2 separate regions of the Homo sapiens genome follow, and region 1 is linked to region 2. Evidence: promoter capture Hi-C in human tissues and cell types (Jung and others, 2019). All regions are on one chromosome and are shown on one strand. The core of a region is centred on a gene start or on the middle of the fragment in contact, and the rest is flanking DNA. Distances in the headings are between cores, read along the strand shown. Region 1 overlaps MYO7A (myosin VIIA). Region 2 holds the start of PAK1 (p21 (RAC1) activated kinase 1).

What was found. Contacts are between HindIII fragments. The study calls those that stand out against the background at their distance.
Region 1: a contact is called between a fragment that was not itself captured here and the fragment with the promoter of PAK1 in region 2, in 1 of the 25 tissues and cell types used here (thymus).

The regions. Positions count from the first base shown.
Region 1 is chr11:77,163,973-77,170,427 of GRCh38, forward strand. It overlaps MYO7A (myosin VIIA), which reads left to right. Exons shown (of 49, transcript NM_000260.4): 15 at 2,084-2,190. Among named protein-coding and RNA genes, the nearest start is that of MYO7A, 39 kb to the left of the region's middle. The HindIII fragment of the contact is 9,813 bases long and covers 1-6,455 here.
Region 2 is chr11:77,469,769-77,475,740 of GRCh38, forward strand. PAK1 (p21 (RAC1) activated kinase 1) reads right to left here and starts at 4,326. Exons shown (of 15, transcript NM_002576.5): 1 at 3,784-4,326. RefSeq lists an enhancer at 3,434-4,350 and silencers at 3,591-3,900, 3,921-3,970, 4,201-4,560. The HindIII fragment of the contact is 5,525 bases long and covers 2,284-5,972 here.

The sequences.
Region 1 (6,455 bases), core at 1,752-4,251, 310 kb before region 2:
GAACAAGGTGGGGGGGGCTTGACTGTCCTTACCTGATACAACATAGCCCATTAGGCTCAAAGTCAGGCCTCGAACCAGCCCAGTTACCCCCTAAGACTCTCAGCAACAAGACCAAGCATGAGCTTTGAAGACCGTGCATCTTCTTTTCCCCTGGGGACAGGCAATTGGGTTCACGTTAAAGCTGGAAGTTAAGAAGAGTGGTCAGAACACAGGCTTATCTCACCTGGAATTCTTAAGGGTTTGTCAAAAGACTGCAGACTGCCCTTGCCAATCCCTCCCCACCCACCCTGGTGTAAAGGGCCAACCACAAATTGGCATTAGTTATGGGCTGTGTCTACCCTGAGCCCTGCCATACAGCCTCAAGGGGTCCCATGCATAGTCAAAGGCCAATTAACCCATAAATATCTATACCTACTATGTACCACAAAAAATTAAAAATTAATTTTTTTTTAAAAAAGGCCAAAGATATCCAAACATGCTATAACCCATCCGTTTCTTACTCCGTTGCTGAACTGGTCCAGAAGTCAGCAGTGTATCAGTGAGCCAGGCTGCAGTGGTAGAATCTGATGGCGGCTCAGATTCCCTTACAATATTGGACTGTGAGATCCAACCTTATTGTTGGAAGAAGGAAGCAGACATTAAGTTTGAAGGACTGTCACGCAAACAAATTGGTCTTTCATTTGGAGTAATAGAGGATTGTATTTCTCAGTTCAGTTCAACCAATATGCTCTTAGCATCTATTATGTACCAGGCTTCATGACGTTGCTGAGGATACAGAAGTGAAAATTGAATAATCTCTATGCTGAGTTGTAAAACTATAGAACGCCAGGTCTGGAGGGAACATAAGGGTCATCTACCTTAATAGAATTGGTAACTGAAGCCCAGAAAGGGAAATGGCTTGCCTAAGGTTGTTAAACAAGACTAAATGACTGGAAAGAATTCTACCAGCATTTTCTAGTTCACAAAGAACCTTTTCAATACAGCGTCTTATTTATGATGTGGATTTATGAAGTGGGTGGTATTAGGTGTTCTGAAGAGAAGCAAGCTTGTAGGCACTATCCTTCCCATCCAACAGTTAAGGAAACTGGAGTCCCAGAATGGGGGTCTTTCTAGGATAACATAGTGAGTCTGTCAGAGCTTTAGTGAGAACCCAATTACATCCCAACTGCAAAGCCCACCCTCCATTCCTGTGTGTCCCCTGCAACTCGCCCCTCCCCAGGTGCCAGGCGGGCAGCCTAGCACTGGATCTCTGTGCTGTCCGCCATTCATGGGCAGCCTATGTCCTGCTCTGTGCAGTGGCACTCCCCCTCTGGCATCTGCAGTCCTTGGACACCCCGTCTCTTGCCCCACTCTACAACCCCCTCCCCATTAACCAGTTTCCAACTCCTCGGTCCCTGTGAGTGGCAGCCTCCTCTGGGGTCTGTGTGGTGCAGGGGAATCTCCCTAGGCTCCTGGGGATCCTGGGTTCTGGGTGCAGAGAATCTCCTTTGCACCAGCGTCCTGGGTTCAAGTCTTAACTCTGCCCATGGCTTACTGTGTGACATTAGACAACTCACTTAGCTTCTCTGAACATCAGTTTTCTCCCTTTGGGGGCAGAGGAGGTAATCCCTACCTGTCCCACATAGAAGGAGCTGTGAGGGGTCTTCATAAAACATAACACACTGTCCAACCACAAGGTGGTTTTAATGAATTCCTTTAATATTAGCTTGTACCAGATCAACATGCATTCTCTCCCAGGTGACACACTTACTTAACAAGGCCTTTTGATATCTTAGTTCAAAAGACTCATGGTAGCTTTGGGGTGGTTGGTCAGGAAGGAGGCCTGCTTTCTCCTGGAGACTGAGACCCCCCTGCCCTTCTTGAACAGGCCTGGAAGAGGGGAGCTGTGTCACTGGGGAGATGGCCCCTCACTTTCTCTATGATCTTGGGCAAGTCTCTGTCCCCTCCAGGCCTCAGGGCCCCCGTCATGAAATGGATGTGGTGGAACTAGGTGGATTTTGAGGGTCCTCCTGGCTCAGATGTTATGGGTTTGGGGAGGGCCTGCCAGAGCTGGTGAGAGGTGACTGCTGTTTGCTGCTTGCAGGCTTCCTGGAGAAGAACCGAGACACCCTGCATGGGGACATTATCCAGCTGGTCCACTCCTCCAGGAACAAGTTCATCAAGCAGATCTTCCAGGCCGATGTCGCCATGGTAAGCCGGGTGCGGTTTCTGTTGTTCGGGAAGGGCCCCCACGGGCCAGGCCTGAGTCTAAGCCCTGCCCTTGTCCAACAGCTTCAGCTGAGCCCCCTGGCCACATAATGGGTATGGAGCTTTGCTGTGGCTCCAGGAGGGGCCTGGAGGGGCCTCAAAGGTGTTCCCATCTGGTCCTCTTATTGTACTAACTGGGGATATGGCTGGGGTGCAAGGCCCAGAGAAGGGTCACCTGAGAGGTCACAGAGCAGAACCGGTCAGGGATCGGTTTACTGTGGGGGTTCACCCCCTGGAATCCAGCTGCTAAAGAGAGCATGGGCAGAAAGAGCACATCCAGCTTGAAGGATGTGGGGTGGGTGTGGATACTCAGAGAAGCTGGCACAGAGGGCATGTCTGTGCCAGCCCCAGACCCCATCAGACAGTGGGAGAACAGCCCCCTCCGCCTTTCCTTAGGCCCTAGGGTGAGGGTCTAGTGGATTTTTTCCTGCTGGGTTGCATGCCTTTTTATTTCATATTTTCCTCCTGTCCCATGGCTTCCTGGAGGGTGCATGAAGTCCTCACGCAGAAGACAGTCCTTGCCCCTTCCATGCCTGTCTAGGTGCCTGGCTGTCCCCTGCCCTCAGGACCACCAAGGCATCACAGAGCTTCCAGGACCCCAGACCTCTCCCTGAGGGTCCCCCTCTCTCCATGGTGGATTTTGAGTGGTTTTGTGACCCACCACATTCTCCTTGCCCCTCCTCTCCCCATCTCACCCTGCACCGTGGTTCCTGTTGTAGTTTCTCTGTGGTTATTCATCGGGTACTCTGCGCCACTCAGCAGCTGCTGCGAAGGTAAAAGACCCCAGCCCGGGGCTGAGGATGGCGGGAGAGGCCTCAGCGGCCTGGGTGGGGCTTGGTCCCGAGCTCCCACTGTGCTGAGACTCGGGAAAAGGGCTGGGCTTTTTCTCCTTTTTTTTGGAGTGTGTTTTTGTGTGGAGTGGTTTGTGGAGTGATTTTTGTGTTTGGTTTTTGAGTTGTGTGTGCTGCAGGCATTTCTTTCTTCAAGGAGGAAACTGAGTCCTAGGAGAGGGGCAAGGCTTGCCCAGGGTCCTCTGGGAACCGGGGACAGAGTGGGGACTCGAACGCAGGTCTCCTAAGGCCCCTTGGAGGCGTCAATCCCCGGTCCTTCCACCAGGCCCTGGTGGGCGCCTATGGCCATGCCTTGACCAGATCCTCAGATAACCTTGCAAGGCAGGAGGGACAGGTAGCATTTTCTGCATTTTGCAGATGAGAGACTGAGGCTGAGAGAGGGGATATGACTCATTCCAGGTAACAGCATTCTGACAGGGAGCTGGGACTAGGAGACACCATTCCCCGGACCTCCTTAGGTCTGAAACAGCAGCCCTGTTGCATCCTGAACTCTGGTTCAGGCCGTGGCTCCCACGGTGCTCTAGACCCCAAAGGTGCTGGGTACCCCTTAGCAACAGCATGGTGCTGCCAACCCCTTTGCCTCCTTTTCTCTCCTCAGCCCTCCATTTCCTCTCTGCCAAATACTGACATCCTTCCACTTTGGCCTGGTGCTGAGTCCTTCTTCCTTCCTGCCTGCCTGGCAGAGTTCTGAAACAATCCACACACCCCCAGCAGTAGACAGGGCATGTCAGGAGCAAGGAGCTTGTCTGGATGGTGGCCTCTCCCCTCTGCCCACAGATCAGCCCTGGAAGAACCTCCCGCCCCCACTCACCCTGACAGACCAACACTGTAGGCTGGCCGACTGCTGGGGTGCACACAAGGCCAACCTGAGAGAGGGGAGTCCCAGGCACTCGAAGCACTGGCACCCAGGAGAGTCCCCACCCGAAAGCCCTGTGCTGTAAGGTGGCTGTACTGCTGAGACGGGCGTAGCTCTGGCCTCTCCCACTCTTTCCTCTTCTCCTGTAGCCCTGCTGGCCCCTCGCTGGGCCCATCCATTCCTCCTGGTCTTGGGCATACTCTGGTTAAACCCCATCTTCCCCTCCTACCCGTTCTTCTCTCTCCTCTGTCTTTTCAAAGCTCCTTGAGGCATCTGGGAACACTCCATGATATTTCCTGCTCGAGTTTCCTACTCCTGGGATTAGAACCCACTTACTGAGAAATCATGGAGAGGTCAAAGTGCAGGAGCCCAGAGTCTCCAGAAATGGCCCCCTCCAGAAGAAGTTTTAGGAACAGAGAATTAGGATACAACAGTGACCAATCTGATACCAGTTACATCTACTGGGCACCTCTTCTGAGCCAGGCTATGAGCTAAGCACTTATATTTATCACCTCATTCACTCCCCACTGCAACCTGGCGAGTAATTACTATTACTCCCACTTTACAGGTGAAGAACTGGGGCCCAGGCTGGGTGTGGTGGCTCACACCTATGATCCCAGCACTTTGGGAGGCCAAGGCAGGAGGATTGCTTAAGGCCAGGAGTTCAAGACCAGCCTGGGCAACATAGTGAGACCCTGTGTCTACAAAAAAATTTAAAATTAGCTGAACATGGGGGTGAGCACTTGTAGTCACAGCTACTTGGAGTGGGGGCTGAGAAAAGACAATTCCTTGAGCCCAGGAGTTGGAGGCCGCAGTGAGTTGTGACTGTGCCACTGCACTCCAGCGTGGGTGACAGAGTGAGATCCTGTCTCTAAAATTTAAAAAAAGAAAGAAACTGGGGCCCAGAGAGGCCAAGGTGCTCACTGAGGTCACATACCTTGTGACACAACAGGGATTCGAGTGCAGGCCTGCCTCAGGGACTTGTCTAAGGCCATATACAAGCGAGGGCTAAAGTGAAGTTTTCCAAGTCCCTGCTTTTTAAAAAATAATTTTAATTTTTAAAAATTTACTGTGCTGTCTCCATAAACGTCACATCTTAGGAAAGAAAACATACTTCGTAACTGCTAGAAACACGATGGCTTTTTAAAAGGAAGATGAAAATCAGCTTGGTTAATTGTGAGACATTAAGTCACAGTTTATTCAATGACAGTGTACTAGTGTGGCAATGCTCCCATCAGGATGGAAGCCCACGCCACCTCTTGCAGTGAGTGATCTGCACTCCCATCATCGGCAGATCCCCGAGCCCTGAGTTTTCAGCCTTTGACTCCTACATCTGCCTCCCTGGGGCAGCCGTGGGCAGCCCCACCACAGCCCTTGCTGGTGAAGGGCCCAGCCCAGCTGTGATAAAGGCAGCTCTTCTAGGATATTGAGTAGCCCCTGATTAATGCCTAAGCCCAGTCATATGTCCTGGGGCCCTGAGCCCAAGAGACACCTATTCACTCTATGCAGGTGGCCTCCTGCCTGAGACTTCCCAGCCCCTTTCATGTCACGCTCTGGGGTCTTCCTCTCAGATCCTTTCTGGGGAGCATTTGACATTGGCCTTTGAACTTTTCACTTCCACCTTTACCCCATCCCCATCTGCAGATTATCCCAGAAAACAGCAAATACCAGGAAGGACAGCCTTTCCCCCCAATGAAATAAAACCAAATCAGAAACCCAGATGGCTACCTACAAACCTTTATTGAGTACCTACTATATGCCAGGCATTGTCATGGGTCTTGGGGACGTAGCAGTGAATAAAACAGAAAAAGTCTCTGTCCTTATGGAACTTAAGTTCCAGCAGAAGAGTGGATAGTTAGAAAGCCAAGGCCAGGTGAAGTGGCTCACACCTGTAATTCCAAAACTTTGGGAGGCCGAGGTGGGCAGATTGCTTGAGCTCAGGAGTTCAAGACCAGCCTTGGCAAAATGGCAAAATCCCATCTCTACAAAAAATATAAAAATTAGCTAGGCACAGTGGTACACACCTGTAGTCCCAGCTATTCAGGAGGCTGAGACAGGAGGCCGAGTCTGGGAGGTCGAGGCTGCAATGAGCCAAGATCGTACCACTGTGCTCCAGCCTGGGCGACAGAGTGAGACCTTGCTTCAAAAATAATAGTAAATAGATAGAAAGCCAATAAATAAGTAAAACCTGCAGTGTATCAGATGGTGAGATGTAGTATGGGGAAAGATTAAGGAGGGAGGAATGCGGCGGTGGGACTCTGTGATTTTCAGTGGTGTGGTGGGTGCGGTCAGGAAAGGCCTGCCTGAGAAGCTGAGCAGGAGGTGAGGAAGAATGTGCCCAGCCACATTCCAGAGGAAGGGCTTTGCAGGGAGAGGGGACAGCAAGCACAGATGCCCTGAGGTGCTTTGCAAGCCTATGCCTGCATCCCAGGTGCACCTCAGGCAGGGCAAGGAGGCTGGAGGGGCTGGAGGGGAGGGAACAGGTGTTACAAAGACCAGAG
Region 2 (5,972 bases), core at 3,076-5,575:
TTATTTTCAAGTTTGAATATACTGACTATTAATTTTGAATCAATGCATTTTTCCTTTTATTTTTAGTTGATATGTAATAATTGTACATATTTATGATATTTTGAGATGTATATAATTCGTAATAATCAAATCAGGATAATTAGCATATTCATCACTCCAAACATTTATCATTTCTTTATCATAAACAGTCAAAAGCCTCGTTTTTAGATGCATATTGTTTATCGCTTTTCAAAAATAAACAATAAACTGTAGTGAGATGTATTCTTTTGATAACCTTAAACTTGTCTCTTTACTATGCCAAAAAGAAATATTTTTCTCCCACTTTCTGGTTATTATTTAGAAAAATAACATGGAGAGGGATCAGAAAATTCATTAAAACCAGCAACAACAGAATTAATGTCTCAAATTGGCAACTGCTGATTCCACCTTGATTTTTGTTTTAGTTTTCCCCAACAAAGCCCATGACCTCTTAAAATTTTTTAAAAGTCTGCCTGTCAAAATGATGCTTGTTTGACAAATTATTCCTAAACTGAGGGAAACAAATAGAAAGGCAGCTTTCTCCCCCCCTTTATGATCATATACCACCTTTTTTCATCCCTCTATTTCATCTCTTCATTTCAGCACTTATCATGTCATATTATCTCTAGCTCCTTAAAGACTTGGGCTGCACTCTTGTATATAGCTGAACATCCTGCCCAGCACAGGGTCTGGCACATGGTGGAGAAGGACTCATAATTTTATAGTAAACGGATGAATAATTGAAGCCACTCTCCCAGAAGGAAGCTAGGAAAGGAGAAAACTGGGCATGGTATCTTAGGGCTAATAAGAAAGTGAAAGAAACAAAGCATTTTAAGAGCTTGACAAGGAAGAGAAACCTTTGTGTGGAGTCAAACAGGCCCTATATAGCTTTAAGTATCACCAGAGAAAGACAAAAACCACAGGAGACCAGGAAGAGACAGTTTTAAGTTAAAAGACTCAAAAGTTAAGAGTGCTTATTTAGACTTGCAAAACCAACTTGCAAATTCAAAAGAAACAATCCTGGCTTGGAATATTGCAACAGCAGTTTTCAGGTGGTGGTTAAAACAAACAAACGAACAAAAGACTAGGCTAAAAATTCTTGCAGGCTTTGGTTGGAGACACATAAAGGGAAAAGCTCAACCTAAAATGAATCCCCCAAAAATGTTAGGATCCCCTTGGATTTGCACATTGGACCATGATTCCTATTCATTCTGAGAACGGTTCTTGAGTAAAACCCCAATGTCGCAGCTGGCAATACATAGAATTAAATCATCTTACATTATTCATTCAACAAATACTTGAGTGCCTGCTATATGCAGTCACTATTCTAGGCACTAGGATTAAAGCAATGACCAAACTGACAAAACTTCCCAGTCTCAGGAAGCTTTCATTCTATTGGCAAGAGAGGGATGGGATGGGATGGGATGGGATGTCACGCAGTTAAGTGCTACGGAAGAAAAACGGGACAGCAGGAGCTGGCAGGGTGCTGGTTTTTATTAAGAGCAGATCTTTTAACCCAGTGGTTCTCAAACTTTAGCAAGCATCAGAATCATTTAAAGGGCTTATTAAAGAAAAGAAATTCACAGGCTACCAAAAAAAGACAGGCACAAACTCAAGTAATTGCAACAGAGCGCTACAGAAGGCCATAAAAGTGGTATGTACATGAGCCAGAGGATGGAAGAGCAACTCATTCTATGCAGGAAAAGGAGAGACTAAGGGACTGCATCCCAGAGGCCCAACAAGGTCATCTCCACAGGCAGGTAAGGGGTGGAAGGGAAGCATTCCAGGAAGAAAACAGAACATGCAAGAGTGAAGATGAGAGTGGCAGGGGAGCCACAGAAAGTGAGACTGCAAAGGCAGGCAGTGGTCTGATCCCTGAGAGCTTTTTATTCCATGTTACTCTGAAATTTATCTTCAGAATATGAAGAGTCAGGGGTAGGGGGCGCTGATGTGGTAAGGTTTTGTTTTACAGAAATCTTTCTGGATGCACAGTACCTTCCTTTGAGGCACTGCTTCCTTCAAACCTAGCACAGGGACTCAAAACATGTGCTTAGTAAATGTATATTGAATTGAACTGAACAAGCTTTTTACCAAATGCCCTGTTATGGATGAGGCAGGTCACCTTCCCTGCAGGACTCACTTTGGCCAAGAGAAGACTTGTAAAACAGGTCCAGCAGCCTCAATTATTGCACACTACTACCTGTACAACTGGAGTCCCCCAGAGATTAGGGCAGACCTTCATTGTTTACTTGTCTACCTCACCCATTAGACTTTGAGCTCTTTGAAGACAGGGAATATCTTAATAGACTGAATCCCCATAGCCTTAGCAAGAGGCCTGAAACATAGTAGCTCTCCGAACTCCAGTAATGTTGGATAAACGAATTGACTGAATAAGCAAATTTACCAAGGTAGACCCATGAGCTCATGTAGTTAAAGAGTATGGATAAGCTTCAGGGAAAGTATGGGAAGTTTTCAGGGTCAATGTTCCCAAAACCCTTTTTGAAAGGCATAGTTTCTAGTTGAGGTGGGGAGTTTTTATATGCACCTGACTTAGAATTTTCCAAATAGGAACCAAAATGTTGTAAGTGCTGTGGTAGAAATCCCACCGGGCCAATGGGAAGAAATCAGCTCTGTCTGTAAGAGGAGAGACAGGATGGAGGCCAGCAAAGACTTCACAGTGTGGGAATTCTTCAGTGGACTCTTGAAAGCTGAGTCCGGTGCTTGCTACTTGCCCGTTTTGGGGCATAAAACCAAACTTCTGGAGCTTTTAAGGCTGGAAGTGACCTGCTCAAGGTCACACAAGAAGTAGATGAAGCCACAGGGTAAGAGAGATGAGGTATCTGTACTGATAATTCCTACTTTCTCCTGACAGAGTTGAAAGAGAACCCAAAAATGTAGGAGGCAAAATTAAAGATTGTTCTCAGGAACAATTCTTAAAGTCAAGACTAATGAATCTGAATTTTTATTAGTAACCACGGAACTAACCCTTCCCTTCACTGTTCACAGTTTTTGTAACAGTAGAACAATTATCCAAGGGGTTTAAAAACCAAGGACGTTGCTCACAACGCCACACCCACTACTTCTCAAGTATTCTTCCAAAACACTCCCAGTAATGTGTACTGCTGAAATAGGATAGCGAAGGCTACAACAATCATGTCTTTTCAAACGTAATAATGAACATAAAATAACTATAAATCTCCTTCCCCGGTTGTTTTTCACTTCCCAAGTTACAGAATATTCCGGGGTGGGGGAGGGGCTGCGTAAGTCAAGTCCTACCAGCCCTTATTTTTCAGGGAGTAGAACCCTAAAGGTGACTGTCCAAGCCTGGAAGGGGTCATTTATTCCATGCAGAAGGAACTGGGCGCCGCTTTGCTGTGCCTCCTCGTAGCGGGACAGGGTGAGCGCCGCAGGACTGCGAAGTTCGGGACGGACTCGGTCCCGGACCGGTACTCGTGTGGCCTCCCGGCTCCAGCCTGGCCTGGCCCCGCCCCGCCCCTTCCCTCTCCCAGGTCTCTCGAATCGCCCGGCGTCTGAGACCCGCGACCCCGCCGGTACGCGCACAGGGGGCCTTTGTTGGCCCGACGGGAGCGGGCCTCGCGGGGCGCCGCCCGCCTCACCTTACCTGGCGCCTCCTCCCGCCCAGGCGCCCGGCCCCGCAACGCGAAATAAATGGGCCCAGACCCCCACTCCACCCGTCCCCACCCCCGCGCCCCAGCCCTGGCAGCCCGGGACGCGAGGGGTACTGGGCGGTAGGCCCGCTCTCACCTTCCGCGCTCGCTCAGCTCCTCTCGGCTCCTCCTCCTCCTCCCGGCGGTGGGTGCCGCCTAGCCGGGAGTGAGGGCGCGAGTGTGCGCGAGCTACCGCTTCACTTTCTCCCTCCTGCCGCCGCCGCCGCGCTGCCCGTGGCGGGGCTCCCCTCAGGACAGGGGAACTGCGAGGGAAGGGATGATGGGGGGGCGGGAGGGAGCGAGGCGACGCGGGCGGGGGGGGAAGGGGGGACTGAGGGGCGAGGTGCGAAGGGCTCAGATGGCCTCTGAGGCAGGAGGTGGTAACTGGATGCGGAGACCAGGTTCCTCGAGGGGGCTCACGAAAGCGCGGGGCTCCGTGGAAAAGGGAATGAGAGTCCAAGGGGGAAGGCGTCTGTGGGGGAGGACTGCAGAGCCTGTGAGGGAAGCGCGATGGGCGAGCGAGGGGGCGGGAGCGTGTGGGGGAAGCCGTGAGGGGGCGTCTACTGTGCAGCCACCACCTTCGGCTCCGGCTGCAGCCGCGGGAGGGCAGCCTCCCCCGCCCACAGCCGCGCTATTGTACGCCGCCCGGCAGGCCTGACCGCCTAGTTCACTGGCTCCCCTACTCCTCCTCCTCCCGCCTCCTCCTCCCCTCTGCCCTTTCCCCTTCTCCCCCTCCCCCTCCCCCACTCCCCCTCCCCGGCGCGGCGGCGGCGGCTGCGGCTCCGGTGGAGCCGTGCCCGCCCCGCCTCCCGCAGGTGAGAGGGGGCGGGGAGGGCCTGACCGACCCGTGGGAGCGAGGCCAAACCCTGGCCCGCATGAGGGCGAACGCCTGGGATTACGTCATCGGCGCGTGACGCCAGAGGCTGGGGAATCACCCGCTTGCTGCGTGACGTCATCGCGTCGCGTCACTGTTCTCGGTCCGCTGTCCGTGGCGGGTTGTTTCCGTGCAGCCTTTCTATCAGACAATTTTGGGACGATTTCTGGGAGGGCTACTGTAGTAGTCAGGATGGAGAAAGACGGCTAACTTCCGGCGCTGAGGGTCCTTTTCAGGTTAACAAAGCACCACCGCATCTATGAGCTCGTTGTCAAGGGCTGAATTTGAAAACTATCCGATGTCGTGTGATCTCACAGCCAGACATGTATTATGTTTTCTTTCTGTGGGAGAGGGGGCAGGGGTGGGAGGAAGACAAAGAAATTATAACGGAGATGTTTGAACTAATGTGAACTGACATACGAAAAGAATGGGCTTCCTTTCACGTTTTTTCCCCTACCGTGGAGGGTACTTTCGACCCAAAGCTTTCTTTCTCCTGAGCTCAGATTGTGTATTTCCCAATACCTCCCGAGCAGCATTACCTGCATACTCTTCGTACCTCAGATTCAACATGTGCGAAACTGAGACAGCATTAGAAAGGCTAAGAGTCCGGAATCAGGTTGCCTTGCTTGAAATCCTAGCTATTCAAATATTAGTGATAGGACCTTGACATTTCTAAGCCGTAATTTTTCTGTAATAATAAGTAGTACCTTAACTAGGTCTTCCTAAGCCTCAGTTTTACCATGGTAATAGTAACAAGCCCTTTAGAATGTTGGCTATTATTATTATTTCCCCCCCAAAATTGCTTCTTACGTTCCTTTCCGTTCTCAATGAATGGGCCACCCATTCAACAATCCCCTAAGCCAGGAACCTAGACATACTAATAGCTCCCCGTTCTTCCTCTCTCAACATCCATATCAAGTTGGACACCAAGTCTTGTAGCTTCTCCTAAATATTTTTCAAGTCCTTGCCTGTGTCGTCTTCTACTACCACCACCTGAACAACTGGAGCAACCTTTAGTCTCTTCAAACTCAATCTATTTTTCTCACTAGTTACCTGAGTAGCCTTATAAAAGCACAAATCTGATGATGTCCTCCCGTTTAAACACCGAAAGGATTTTATTGCTTTCAGGATAAAGTTCAAACTCCTGAACTTGGCACTTTATTACCTGACTGCTTACACTAGCCTTTCTAGCTTTGTCTCACATCATTTATTTTTTGCTCCAAGCACACTGAAATATTAACGTTATTTGAATACACATTTCTTCATGTCTTCAAGCTCTTCCCTACTTAGCTGACTGGCCAACACCTATTCATTGTACAAAGCTGAGCTCAAATGTCATTCATATTCATATTCATATTCATTTGACTAATATTTCTAAAGTTTCCCTAAGCCTTAACAAAACTGTAATTCTA